3 separate regions of the Homo sapiens genome follow, and all the other regions are linked to region 2. The links are contacts of gene promoters, found by promoter capture Hi-C in blood cells and fetal thymus (Javierre and others, 2016). All regions are on one chromosome and are shown on one strand. The core of a region is centred on a gene start or on the middle of the fragment in contact, and the rest is flanking DNA. Distances in the headings are between cores, read along the strand shown.

Evidence for each region. Contacts are between HindIII fragments. The CHiCAGO score rates a contact against its expected background, and 5 or more counts as called.
Region 1: a contact is called between a fragment that was not itself captured here and the fragment with the promoter of TMEM43 in region 2, in 1 of 17 cell types (fetal thymus). The highest score is 8.0, in fetal thymus.
Region 3: the fragment with the promoter of MKRN2 here is called in contact with the fragment with the promoter of TMEM43 in region 2 in 2 of 17 cell types (total B cells and fetal thymus); the score reaches 8.1 in total B cells.

What each region holds. Positions count from the first base shown.
Region 1 is chr3:12,808,235-12,812,994 of GRCh38, forward strand. It overlaps CAND2 (cullin associated and neddylation dissociated 2 (putative)), which reads left to right. Exons shown (of 15, transcript NM_001162499.2): 4 at 1-99; 5 at 1,825-2,090; 6 at 4,756-4,760. Among named protein-coding and RNA genes, the nearest start is that of CAND2, 14 kb to the left of the region's middle. RefSeq lists a silencer at 1,853-2,302. The HindIII fragment of the contact is 687 bases long and covers 2,648-3,334 here.
Region 2 is chr3:14,122,660-14,126,301 of GRCh38, forward strand. It overlaps TMEM43 (transmembrane protein 43), which reads left to right and starts at 2,393. Exons shown (of 12, transcript NM_024334.3): 1 at 2,393-2,546. The coding sequence starts at 2,535. CHCHD4 (coiled-coil-helix-coiled-coil-helix domain containing 4) reads right to left here and starts at 2,211. Exons shown (of 3, transcript NM_001098502.2): 1 at 1,996-2,211. The coding sequence starts at 2,017. RefSeq lists enhancers at 1-364, 1,836-2,570, 2,438-2,637, 2,571-3,305, 2,738-3,027 and 1 more and silencers at 1,628-1,677, 1,688-2,247. The HindIII fragment of the contact is 788 bases long and covers 2,278-3,065 here.
Region 3 is chr3:12,554,523-12,558,843 of GRCh38, forward strand. MKRN2 (makorin ring finger protein 2) reads left to right here and starts at 2,565. Exons shown (of 8, transcript NM_014160.5): 1 at 2,565-2,654. The coding sequence starts at 2,629. It also overlaps a transcript of MKRN2OS not described here. RefSeq lists enhancers at 2,185-2,294, 2,345-2,404, 2,792-3,315, 3,225-3,284 and a silencer at 2,575-2,664. The HindIII fragment of the contact is 4,764 bases long and covers 1-4,199 here.

The DNA.
Region 1 (4,760 bases), core at 1,741-4,240, 1.3 Mb before region 2:
CCGGAAGATCACAGGCCAGCTCACCAGTGCCATTGCCCAGCAGGAGGATGTGGCTGTGCAGCTGGAAGCCCTGGACATCCTCTCTGACATGCTGAGCAGGTGTGGGAGGCCATCCTGGGTATTGAGGAAGAGTGGGTAAAAGGGGACAGGGAGGGACTCAAATCACAGAGCTAGCACCTACTGCACACCAGGCCCTGTGCTTGGGGCTCCTTAATCATCCCAGCAGCCTCGTAAAGGAGAACTCAATTGTCACAATTTTACAGGCTCTGAGAGATGATGCGGTCAGTAAAACCTCCCATGACTTGAACACCTGCTCTGGCCAGAAAAATGTCAGGTGCTGGCCTAGTGTTGGGAACATGGGGTTAGATCAGTCTTGGTTGTTCTAGGGAGGAGTTCACAGACATGTATAAAACTGTGAATGGAGTAAGCACAACAGTAAGGATAAGAGCAGGGCTGATAGGAGCTCAGAGGAGCCCCCAGTCCAGCTGGGAGTGAGGAGCCTTCTAAAAGAGAGTGCTGCTAGAGCTGAGCCTTCGAGGAGGGGCAGGACTTAGCTGAGTTTGGGCAGGTATAAAGAGGATGCTGGAGGGGAGACTGTCCCCAGTCCAGAAGGCAGAGACAGGGGAAGACTTGGGGTCCCAGAGTCTGCCAGGGGTCGTGGGGCAGGCTGTAATGTGGAGAGGTGGGTATGCAGAGCTGAGGTGCAGGGCTGGCCAGGAGCCATGGGGCAGGGGTGAGTATTTGTGTGTTCTACCCTGATCTTTCTCTCTGCAGTGGAGAGTAGGTGGGAGGGGATTGAACAGGCAGGGGACTGGTTAAGAGGCTGCTATAGGGAAAGCAATTCGGGTTGTATTCAGGAGGGGGACTCCACAGGACTTGGAGTGGGCAGGGGAGGCAGGGACTGGAGGCTGACCCCTAGGGTTCTGCCTTTAGTAACTGGCGGGGGCAGACAGAGGTGCTGTGATGGGGTGCACTCCGGGAGCCAGCAGCAGGTGTGTGGGGAGGAAGGTGATGGATTCAAGCTGGGGCATGTTGAACTTGAGGCTCCTGGGAGGCACTCACTCAACCACACACTCCATGAGGGCAGCTCCCAGGATCAGTCTGTCTTGTTCACCCTGGCTTCCAGCACAGTCCCTGTCACTTAGCAGGTGAACAGGCAAACAAATGAAACCTAGGAGAGGGGGTTGGGTAGGACATAGAAATAAGGGAGGGTAAGGTCAGCGTGTTTCTGTAAAGTGAGAAAGAAAAGGTCTCAAGATGTTTACAGGACAGAAAATGCACGGGCCTCGTTTGAAGGTGTGGATAGAAGCTGCTGAGGCAGGCAGGAGCTGTGCTGTGTGCGCAGAAACCATTGTCTGGTGTTGCCTCTTGTCTTGAGCCCAGAGCTCAGCATCTCCAAAGGCACTAGGGAGCCATGGAAGGAGTTAAGCAGAGGAGTGACCAGGTGAGAAGTAGACTTTATACTGCTCTGGTCTCAGCGAGGAGGATGGACAGAAGGGGATGGTATTGAGGCAAGGCCTAGACTTCCAAGAAATAGGGACAGCCTTACTAGATCCTCTATGCTTTCCCCTATCAGGTCTTTCTCCCTAGGCTGGGAGCCAGGCTTTGCACTGCTGAGAAGTCCCTTTCTCTCTCCGCTTTCTCTCATGTAACAAAAGTAATTAAAATAATTCCTCCTCACAGTTGCAGGGCACCTCTTTTGCAAGGGCCATTGAGTTGCCATAATCCTGGGAAGGAGGCCGGGAGAGAATGGGGAGAGGGGCGGAGCCTGGCCCAGGTTGCCCGCGGAGTGCGATCGGCCTGATGCCCCCTCGTGCTCCCCAGGCTGGGTGTCCCGCTGGGCGCCTTCCACGCCAGCCTCCTGCACTGTCTGCTGCCACAGCTGAGCAGCCCGCGCCTGGCGGTGCGCAAGCGGGCGGTCGGAGCGCTTGGCCACCTGGCGGCCGCCTGCAGCACCGACCTCTTCGTCGAGCTCGCTGACCACCTACTGGACCGGCTGCCCGGCCCGCGGGTGCCCACCAGCCCGACTGCCATCCGCACCCTGATCCAATGTTTGGGCAGCGTCGGCCGCCAGGCCGGCCACCGCCTCGGTAAGGGGGCAGGGGGCGGGGCCTGGGCTGGCATGGTGGGCGGAGCTTAGGGTGAGCCAATGACTCGGTAAAGGGGCGGAGCTTGGGCCGCAGTGCAGCCAGGGCCTAAGGGTGGGCCGTCTGCCTTGGTAGGGAGGATGGGGCGGGGCCTGGGCTGATGTGGTGGGTGGGGCCTGGGGCGGGCGGCTGAAGCCCCTGAAACGCAGAGGTTGGGGCCGGATAGGGCTTGAGAGGCGCAGGGCGGGCCCTGAGCTCGACAAACCCCCAGGCCTGAGCCCCTGCTGAGTGCAGACGGTTCAGAGAAGGGGGTTGGTTCAATCACTTATGAGACGTGGAGGCTGGCTGGTAATTACAATTTTAAGTCATGCCACTAAACTGTTAGACTATGTTCTCTTCTCCCAGTTTGACAAAGATATCTTAGTAACAGCCCATGAGCCAAGTTTGAATTTTTAAGAAACAATTTAATGTGCATACAATAAACCGCACTATTTAAAGTGTGCAATTCAGTGTGTTTTGACCTTTGTGTATATCCGTGAAACCTTTCCATCACCCCCAAAAGCTTCCTTGTGTCCGTTTGCAGTCCAGCTCTCTGCCTTGTCCAGGAAGCCACTGATCTGCTTTCTGTCACTATAGATTAGTTTTTTAGAAATGGAAAGCTGCAATCAGGTTTGAATGTATCCTCAGACACCTTGGAGTTCTGACTATACCAAGACAGTTTGGATAGAACTGGCATATGGTCAGCCCCTCCCAACCCCTGGCTCTCTCACTGCAAGGGGCCTTGCAGGCACACGGCGGGGGGTGGGGGGGGGAACCCCAGCTGACATGGCCACACCCTGTCCCATTTCTCCCAAACAGCAGCCAGCCCTCAGCCATCCTTGGTTGCATGGACCTAGGAAAGAGGCCTGCGCAGGCTCGGACAAGGGGTCAGGATCCATTGGGCAGGAAACTCGGGTCCCCAGATACCCAGACAGAATGGAGTCTAGGAGTGTTGGGGGTCTCTAGGTCAGCATGTCTCTTCTTATGCTGTAGGGAAGGGTATGGCTGGAGAAGGGCTTGAGTGGAGTGCTCTAAAGCCTGGAGACCAGGCAGGAACCCCTCTTGCCTGGTCTATTAGGGCAGTACCTGCCTCCCTTTCTCCTATCCAAGGACTTAAACCTAGTGAAGGAAATTAGGCCAGGACATGAATAATGGTTTTGATAACAGATGCTATTTATCGAGTGCCTGCTCGTGTAGAACCTGGACTAAGCTTTTTTATTTATTTTTTTGAGACGGAGTCTCGCTCTGTTGCCCAGGCTGGAGTGCAATGGTGCAGTCTCGGCTCACCGCAACCTCCGCCTCCCGGATTCAAGTGATTCTCCTGTCTCAGCCTCCTGAGTAGCTGGCACTACAGGCGCACGCTACCATACCCAGCTAATTTTTGTATTTTTAGTAGAGACGGGGTTTAACTATGTTGGTTGGCCAGGTTGGTCTTGAACCCCTGACCTTGTGATCCCATGATCTGCCCGCCTCGGCCTCCCAAAGTGCTGGGATTACAGGGGTGAGCCACTGCACCCAACCTTGGACTAAGCTTTTTTAACTTCTTTTTTTTTTTTCTTTTTGAGACTGAGTCTCGTGTCTTGCTCTGTTTCCCAGGCTGGAGTGTAGTGGCACGATCTCTGCTCACTGTAACCTCCACCTCCCAGGTTCAAGCAATTCTGCCTCAGCCTCCCAAGTAGCTGGGATTACAGGGGCGCACTGCCACGTGCAGCTAATTTTTGTATTTTTAGTAGAGATGGAGTTTCACCATGTTGGCCAAGCTGGTCTCGAACTCCTGACCTCAGATGATCCATCTGCCTTGGCCTCCCAAAGTGCTGGGATTACAGGTGTGAGCCACCATGCCCGGCCTAAGCTGTTTATCTTTTTTTTTTTTTTTTTTTGGAGATAGAATCTCGCTCTGTCCCCCAGGCTGGAGTACGGTGACGCTATCTTGTCTCACTGCAACCTCCACCTCCCAGGTTCAAGCAATTCTCCTGCCTCAGCCTCCTGAATAGCTGGGACTACAGGTGTGTGCCACCGTGCCCGGCTAATTTTTTTTTTTTTTTTTTTTTTTTTGAGACGGAGTCTCGCTCTGTCGCCCAGGCCAGACTGCGGACTGCAGTGGCGCAATCTCGGCTCACTGCAAGCTCCGCTTCCCGGGTTCACGCCATTCTCCTGCCTCAGCCTCCTGAGTAGCTGGGACTACAGGCGCCCGCCACCGCGCCCGGCTAATTTTTTGTATTTTTAGTAGAGACGGGGTTTCACCTTGTTAGCCAGGATAGTCTCGATCTCCTGACCTCATGATCCACCCGCCTCGGCCTCCCATAGTGCTGGGATTACAGGCGCGCCTGGCCTAAGCTATTTATCATTATATAATTTATCTTCACAAAATCTCTGCCCAGGAGGCACTGTTATCCTTGTTGTGAAGATTAGCTGACTAAGGTCAAAGAAATGTTGTGACCTGCCCAAGGTCCCATAGCAGTTGGGTGGCAGAGTCAGGGCTAGAACCCACATTTGCTTGACTATGAAACCTCTGAGTTGAATCTACAGTGGTCAGGGCTGCAGGTGCATAGACAGTCTGAGTGCTGTGGGCTGGGGGAACTCCGGGAGAGTGTCTGGCTTGGGTTCAGTGATCCACCTGGCCCTGCAGGGGCT
Region 2 (3,642 bases), core at 1,143-3,642:
TTGTACACCAAGCCCTGTGCTAGATGCTGGGGATTCCACAGCCCATCTGATGCTCTCAGCTTAGTGCGAGAAGACAGGCAGGAAGTAAGATGGCAAAAAATAAAAAAGGTCATTTCAGACAGTTCAGGATGTGAAAGACACAAAGGGTCAGGAGGTGATATTGGAGCTAAATGTTAAAGGATGAGGAGTCAGCCACGGAAGAGCTGAAGGCAGGATATACCAAACCAAGGGAATAGCCAAGAGGCTAGAGGCTGGGCAGCAAAAGGGTGGGAAGAGACCAGGCTGGAAAGGCAGACAGGGCCAGATCACATAAGCTCTGATACAGTAAGCAGTTTGGGATCATTTTTTAAAAATCCTATGGGAAGCATAAAGGATCAGTGGGGGGCGGAGGGGGGGAAGTTAGGGACTTCTTACGGGGACAGTGGTATGCACAAGATAAATACTAAGGAAGGCCTATAAGTGAGTGCTTTCAATTCTCACTCCTCTCCGAACTAAGAGAGATCTTTGAAGCAGGAAAAGATAGGGCTCCATGTTTTGGAGGCAGATGGACCTAGCCTCCCCTTTCCAGAGAAAACTGCCTCCTGTAAATCCTCAAAGAGGAGGGTCTTGTTTATCAGCACAGCCTCATTATACCCAAAGGCTCAAAAATTATTTGCTAAATGAAGTAAATTAGAGAAAGACTCGAAATTAAAAACAAGAGTGGTGAGGGCAGAGGACTTTTGCTTATGGCACACATTAAGTAGTAATCAGCGGAAATATAATAGTACTCATTAAAGAGTGAGTCTTATGGCTTTACGACCCAGAGGAGGAGAGGTTCTAGAAGCAGACAGCGCCACCAGGGAAAAGGCTCAGAATTTTAGGCTGAGCTAGTCTCCTAACTGGATGTGTAACTACAGGTAGGCCACCTCCTTCTCTGGGCTTCAGATTGCTTGAATTAACTGACGGAGCTGGAGTATTCACCAAAGAATTTCTGGGGGACTTCCAACTCTCTCTGTAGTTTTATAACCATCCATCCCCCTTCTCTGGCGCAGAGAAGGTGCTTCATGAGTATTTGCCGTATCAATGAAGCCCAACATCTCATTTTACAACACTGGATACCAGGGCCTGGAGGGGTTAGGTGGGAGCTCAGGGCCAAGGAGCCAGTTTGTGGCAGTGTGTGGGGAGGCCCTCCGACCTGTGGCTCGGGTACTTCTGAGCTCTTGGGTAGAGTAACATCAAGGAAGCAGTAGGTGGTCGGAGCTCAACTTTGGGGTGGGAGGTAGGCAGGGTTCTCCCTGCAATCCACTGGGCACTAGATTGGATAAGGCTCTTCTGGGGTCACAATGCCCAGGCTCAAACCCCAGCTCCACGATTTGCTGGCTGAGTGGCTTTAGCCATGTCTCCTGTGTCTAACTTTACTCTTCAGTAAAATGTGACCAACAACAGAGCCTGACTTACAAAGGTCGCAGCGAGATCTGTGAGACAAGCCAGGCAAGTTTCCTTGAACAGTGCCTGACAGGTAGCAGGGGGCTCAAAAACATTCCCGTTAGTGGAACTCCTAGCACTCCAGCACAGCACACGCTACCCCGAGTGGCAACTTTTCGGGACGCGCCTTTTAAAGGCGCGTGCAAAATGTAAACACGTGGGGTATGGCAGGAGCGGTAGTGATAATTAACCACCATACATTCCCAGTTTCGAGCCACACGCAACGTGCTCGGCACTTCCCGTGCCCCAACCGGACCTAGTTTACGACTTCCTACGCACAGGCCCCTCTGAGGTCAGGGTTCGGGCTTCACTGTGACCTTGGACCAGCCCCGTTCCCCCCAGAGCTTCGGTTTTCTCATCCGCAAAACAGGAGTAGCGACCCCCCAGCCGGCCCGCCTCCGAGTGTCCCAGGGTGGGCACCTGGGCCGCGCCTCAGGTGGCCCGCGCCCGGCGTGGTCGCGGGGCGCCGGGGCCCGCGTGTCTCCCGCAGGCCCTCGTAGGCCGGTCTCCGTGGCAGCCCGCCCTCCCTACCTTCCTGCCGGCAATAGGACATGGCTGCAGCCCGTCCCTGAGACCTTGCAGAAGCGGCGGTGGCGGCAGCTGCACCTTTACGCCGTGACCTCCCTCTCCTCTGGCAGGGCGGGCTCCTCCGAAGCCCGCGCGGACCCGCCCCCTCCCAGGCCTGCCCGCCGCGCGCCTGCCTCGGCGCCCTCGCAACCGCGGCCAGGCCAACCTCAGCCGGAAACTACATTTCCCAGCAGGTCGCGCGCTCCTCGACAGCTCTCCAGGCAGTAGAAACTACATTTCCCCGAAAGCTTTGCAGTGCGCAGGCGCATCAATGAGGTACTGCAATGTCCCGGACCGTATAGTTTCCAGGACGTCTCGCCGCGCGCATGCGCAGAAACACTGGGCACAGGGGGAGGTAACTGCAGTAAGTCCCGCTTGGCCCTGGAGTCCACGCGGATTTTCGAAGCTGGGGCTGGCAAGAGGCCGCTGGACACCACGCTCCAGTCGTCAGCCCACTTCCTAGCTGAACAGCGCGAGGCGGCGGCAGCGAGCCGGGTCCCACCATGGCCGCGAATGTGAGTATCCCCGGGCCAGCCGGGCCACACCCAGGCTTCCCCGTCGCCCTGGGGCTTTTCCCCGGGGTCCTCTAGGTCCATTTCGCCGCCTGGAGCTCCTCCGTGCGGCTAGGCCCGCATCTCCCTCTGCTCGCCGTGTCTGTGCCTTCGCCAGCTCATCCCTCTGCTCATCTCGCGGCCTGTCCAGGCTTCTTTTGTCCGTGTTCCTTGGCTCGCCTCGTCCTCGGCGTTCGTGCGGAGGCGGACTCGGAGGTGTTGCTCCCGTACTGGGATCTGCTTGTACGCCTCTCCGCGGCCCCTCCTTGCATTCCCAGTTCCCTCCTGTACCTTGGGGCCCTGAAACTTGCGCATTATGAGAGCTGGACGCGACCTCAGAGAGGGCGCCAGTCCCTTGGGAGGGAGGAAGGCGATCCAGCCCAAGTGGAGCTGTCCAGCAATGGACAGACAGGGCTGTCCAGGCGGGCAGAGAGCTCTCCGCCCTAGGGAGTCTCTGTAAACCGAGTCTGTGATGCTCCAAAAAGCTTAGGCTGGGCTGGGAGCGAAGGAGTTGGGGGAGAGGGAGCATTTCTCTACTGTCGGGGCCCCTCCTCCCCCTAGCAAGGATTTGGTTGGAGGAGGCCTGGCTGAGGGCTGTTCCCTCAAGGCCTCTTCTCCCTGCAACTAGCCTTTCTCGGGAAACTATTTAAGCCCAACATTCATTCAACAAGCAGCGCCTCCTACCAGGGCGCTGGGTGTGGGAGAAGCTGGTGACTCACCTCTCCCCTCCTCTGTGAAAGTGCTTCTAGGGCCCGCTTAGGAGCCCAGCCAGCCCCAGACACACCCTCCCTCCTGCTTTGGTAGAGTGTCCTAGCAGCTCTCCCCTTGCCTGTCACACCCTATTTCCAGACACCGCCTCTGTCCCCAAGCGTCCTCTCTGCCTCCCACACCCCTTGAGAGGCCAGGGTGTGCATCACCCACAGCCCTAGTACACTTTGTCTCGGGTTAGTATCATCCACACTCCCAGGACATTTCGGGCCCACAGGAGGGTTAGAAGCCTTGAATGTTGTACCTAGAAAAGCCTCAGAGGTATTCGGAGAGACTCAGGCTCGGCCAGGCG
Region 3 (4,321 bases), core at 1,315-3,814, 1.6 Mb before region 2:
GCCCATGACACAGACCTCAGGAGATCCTGAGAACATGTGCCCGATCCAGTGTTTTATTTGCACAGACACCCTAAAGGGCACCAGCAGTACAAGGCTGATGAAATAACTTATGGCATAGTCGTACAACGGAATACTATACAGTTCTACGAAAGGAGGAAGAGGCTCTATGTACTGATATGGAAAAATCTCCACTGATTATGTACGCTGTGCAGAACAGTACGTTATGTTATCTTTTCTACAAAAAGGAGAAAATAATATATATGTATTTACTTGTGTATATTTAAAGAAATTCTGGAAAGATGTATACAAATTTGATAACAGTGGCCAGGTTTTGAGGTTTTAAAAAATGTTTCTGCTTTTTGTTTTGAAGAGGCGGGAACTAAATTGACAGGAGACTGAGACTTTTCACTTTACGCTTTTAAAATATTTGAACATAATAACGTTCAGATCGTGAATGTATTCCATAAAGAATGAGATAAGCTGAATTTTAAAAATAAGTGGCATGGGCTGGGCGCGGTGGCTCTCGCCCGTAATCCCAGCACTTTGGGAGGCCGAGGCGGGTGGATTGCCTGAGCTCAGAAGTTCGAGACCAGCCTGGGCAACAGGGTGAAACCCCGTCGCTACTAAAACACAAAAAATCAGCTGGGCGTGGCAGCGTGCGCCTGTATAATCCCAGCTACTCCGGAGGCTGAGACAGGAGAATCGCTTGAACACGGGAGGTGGAGGTTGCAGTGAGCCAAGAGCATGCCACTGCACTCCAGCCTGGGTGACAGAGCAAGACTCCGTCTCAAAAAAAAAAAAAAAAAAGACGTGTAATTTTTATGAGCATGAATTGCATGGATCAAATGTGTTATGAGTTAAAATGCAATATTCAAGACACTGAAAACAAAATTTCCAGTATACTTCCAAATTCCTGAGAAAAATTTCAAAAGTTCTAAATAATTGGAAGTATATACCATGCTCATTCATTGGAAGACTCAATATTTTTATAGCAAAGTAAAAAAAGAACATACAGCTATACATACATAACATGGAAAGATCTCACAGATAAAATGTTGGTCAAAAGAAGGCAGACAAAAGCGTAGGTACTGAATTATTATTTATATGAAAGTCAAGAACAGTTAAACTAATTTATAGTGATAGAGATGAACCCAAGCAATGACCTTTGTAAAGTATTGCCTGGGAAGGACCATAAGGAAGCCCTTCTGGGGTGTCGATAATATCCAGCCCCCACCCACCCCCTGCAGCCTCGACTGCAGTGAACTATGCTCAAAGGATCCTTCCGGCTCAACCTCTCCTTACTCCAGCATTTTGAAGTTTAGTCGAGCATGGTGTCGCGCACCTGTATTCCCAGCTGCTGGGGAGGTTAAGGCAGAGGACTGCTTGAACTATGATGGCGCCACTGCACTCCAGCCTGGGCGACAGAGCAAGACCCTGCCTCAAAACAAAACAAAAAATTCTTTATTTTGATCTGGGTGGTAGTTTCATGAGTGTATGCATGTGCAAAAATTCATAGAATGTGTTTGGTGCACTTATATTGTGCATGTTATGTATCTCGAGTTTTTAAGCAATGAGAAACCATTGTAAGATTAAAAGGTGAATGACATGATCCGATTTATGTTTTAAAAATAGATTTTTACCAGGAACGGAAGCCAGAAGACCAGTTAAAAGGCTATCGCATGGCTGGCCAGGCGTGCACGCCTGTAATTCCAGCTACGTGGAAGGCTGAGAGGCAGGAGAATCGCTTGAACCCGGGAGGCGGAGGTTGCAGTGAGCCGAGATCGCCCCACTGCACTCCAGCCTGGGCAACAAGAGAGAAACTCCGTCTCAAAAAAATAAAAAATAAAATAATAATAATTAAAAAAAAAGGTATCGCATGGTGCTAGGTAGAAGGGACGGTGGAAAGGGGGCAGAAGAGGACGCATTGGACAGAGGTGTGGGAGCAGAATCTGCAGGGTATAGAGAGCTAGAGGGAAGTGTCAAAAATAACTTTTGGGGTTTCCACCATAGGAAATGGAAGACGAGCAGCACAAGACTGGCAGGAAAGAAAATGAAGACTAAAACTTGTGGAAGTAGAGATTTGGGGAAAGAGCAGTTGGGAGAGAGCTAAGGAATTTCCTTAAGTGGGAGGCGAGGTCCGGCGGGAACAGTTGAGGCAGGGCCTGAGAAGGGTGCCCAGTGAGTGCGAGTATGAATGGATAGGGGCATCCGGGATTAAGAGGAGAGGCTGGAGTTTCCCCAGGAGTGGTGAAGTGCCTCGAAGGAGGCGGGAGATCCCTAAGGAATACTCTTGGCGATCGGGGCAGAATCGCAGGCACTAACAGTAGGCATCGGGATAAGACTGGCAGGACTAAGATGCCAGCCAGGCTCCGCCCCGGAGGCTTGGAAGTGCGGGACACCGAGAGCAGGGATGCCGGGACAGCCGGCCCGATCCCCGGTGCGGAACCAATTGTGACGACGGCTAGGTTACCCGCCGGCGCTACAAAGGTGCCACACCGGAGGGGCGGCGTGCGCCGGCGTGCGCCGGCGTGACGCGGCTACGCGGGATGGGCCGGGCCAGGGCCAAGGCCGAGGCGGCAGCGGCTGCGAGAGGCGGCGGCACGACGACGGTCCCTCAGCCCAGCCACCATGAGCACCAAGCAGATCACTTGCAGGTCAGTGCGCTGGAGCCAGGAGCTTCGGGCCGCTCCCCCAGGCCGCAGGGGGGCCGGTGCGCGCCAGTGCTGTGGTCCGGGAACCTGAGGCTAGAGCGGGACTCGGAAAGTTACTCGGCTGTTCGCGGCGGGGCTTTGCGAGGCAGAGCGAGCGCTGCCGCCACAGCCGGGGATCCGGGGGATGCGTGGCCGAGACGCTGGGCGAGGCCAGCGCGGGGGGCTACGCCCCGAGTTTGAAGCGTGGCCCCTGTGGGCTGGGAGGAAGGACGTCCTAGCCAGGGCCGTGCAGGATGCCGGGGCGCTGTCGGGAAGGCTCTGGGGCTTACGCTTTAACTGGAAAAGATTTGAAGTTGAGTAAAGGGACGCCGAGAGGACGGTTACAAATGGGGATACCACATAGGAGTAATTTGTTAATCGATTATGAGGGCCTCAAAGTTTGGAGAATCCAGATGCAATCTAAACTTGCAGAGAGTTAACAAGTAAAAGTTGTTGTGTGGAAAATAACGACAGGTAGCATATTGTGAATATCGGCGAAGCGCCCTGCATATTTCCAAGTCCTTTATATTCATTATCATCAGACTTCACAGTAAGACAACTTAGTAGTTATTATTACCATTTTACAGTGCAGGAAACTGAGACCGAAAGACGTTGACACTCATTTATCTTACTGAGAGAGCCATTTACGAGGAGAAATGCGACGGTAATGGATGGTTTATTGTAGAAAATAGCCAGATAGCTACACTACGACTGCTCCTATGAAATAGAATAGTGTGGTTGTGTAACACCCTCATTGCTTGGTCAGCTTGTGGCTTACTGGTAATGGAGTCTAGTCCTATTGAATTGTATGTTTGGAAAACGCAAATTGAATTGTATGCTTGGAAAATGCAAATTTCATTTAATAATTTTTATGGGAAACATTGCTTAAAAACAGTTATAGAGTTTGTGTAATAAACAGTTTATTTTCTATGTTGTTACTTCTCTTCATTGGTATGAATAGTTGAGACGTGACTGTGTAGTAAGTTTTCTGTTAGCATTAGTGTACATTTACTGTTCAATTTATCCAAGGCCCAGGTGGCTTATGTTAAGCTGTTGTCAGAAATTTGCACCTAGTGTCTATAAAAAGACTTTTACTAGGTTATTTGTACTAGAAGGTGTTTTGTGAAGACGGGTTTGTGTGTGTTTACGTATTTTTATTTGTATAAAGTTTCTCCTGCTGGAGGAAGTATTCCTAGGTCATTGTGCACTGTAAAGCAGCTTGTAGCCTCCTAGAAAAACCTCTGTATTCCTCCCCTCGCTCTATGGTTTAATTCTACCATTTATTCCCGTACCTCATCTAAGAAGTGTCCACAAAACAGTACACATTTATGTAATAATGCTTTATAATTGAATCTCAACTCTGTAGTATCTTATTTTACAAATAAGGAATCTTATGCTCAGAAAGACTTGAAATTTGCCTAAAATTTTACACCTTAGTAGAGGCACAAGGACCTAAATCAGGATCATCTTGGTTTTTTCCTTGTATACCTGGAGATAGCTTGACTTGAAAGCTTTAATTCTGTTTCCCAAACAGGGGTGTTCTGTAGGATGTTGCTCCATATAAATGAAGATTGGGTTGGAATGTTGAGAAGGGATCACTTCTGTTTAAGTGTTTAGTCATGTTTGTTGGG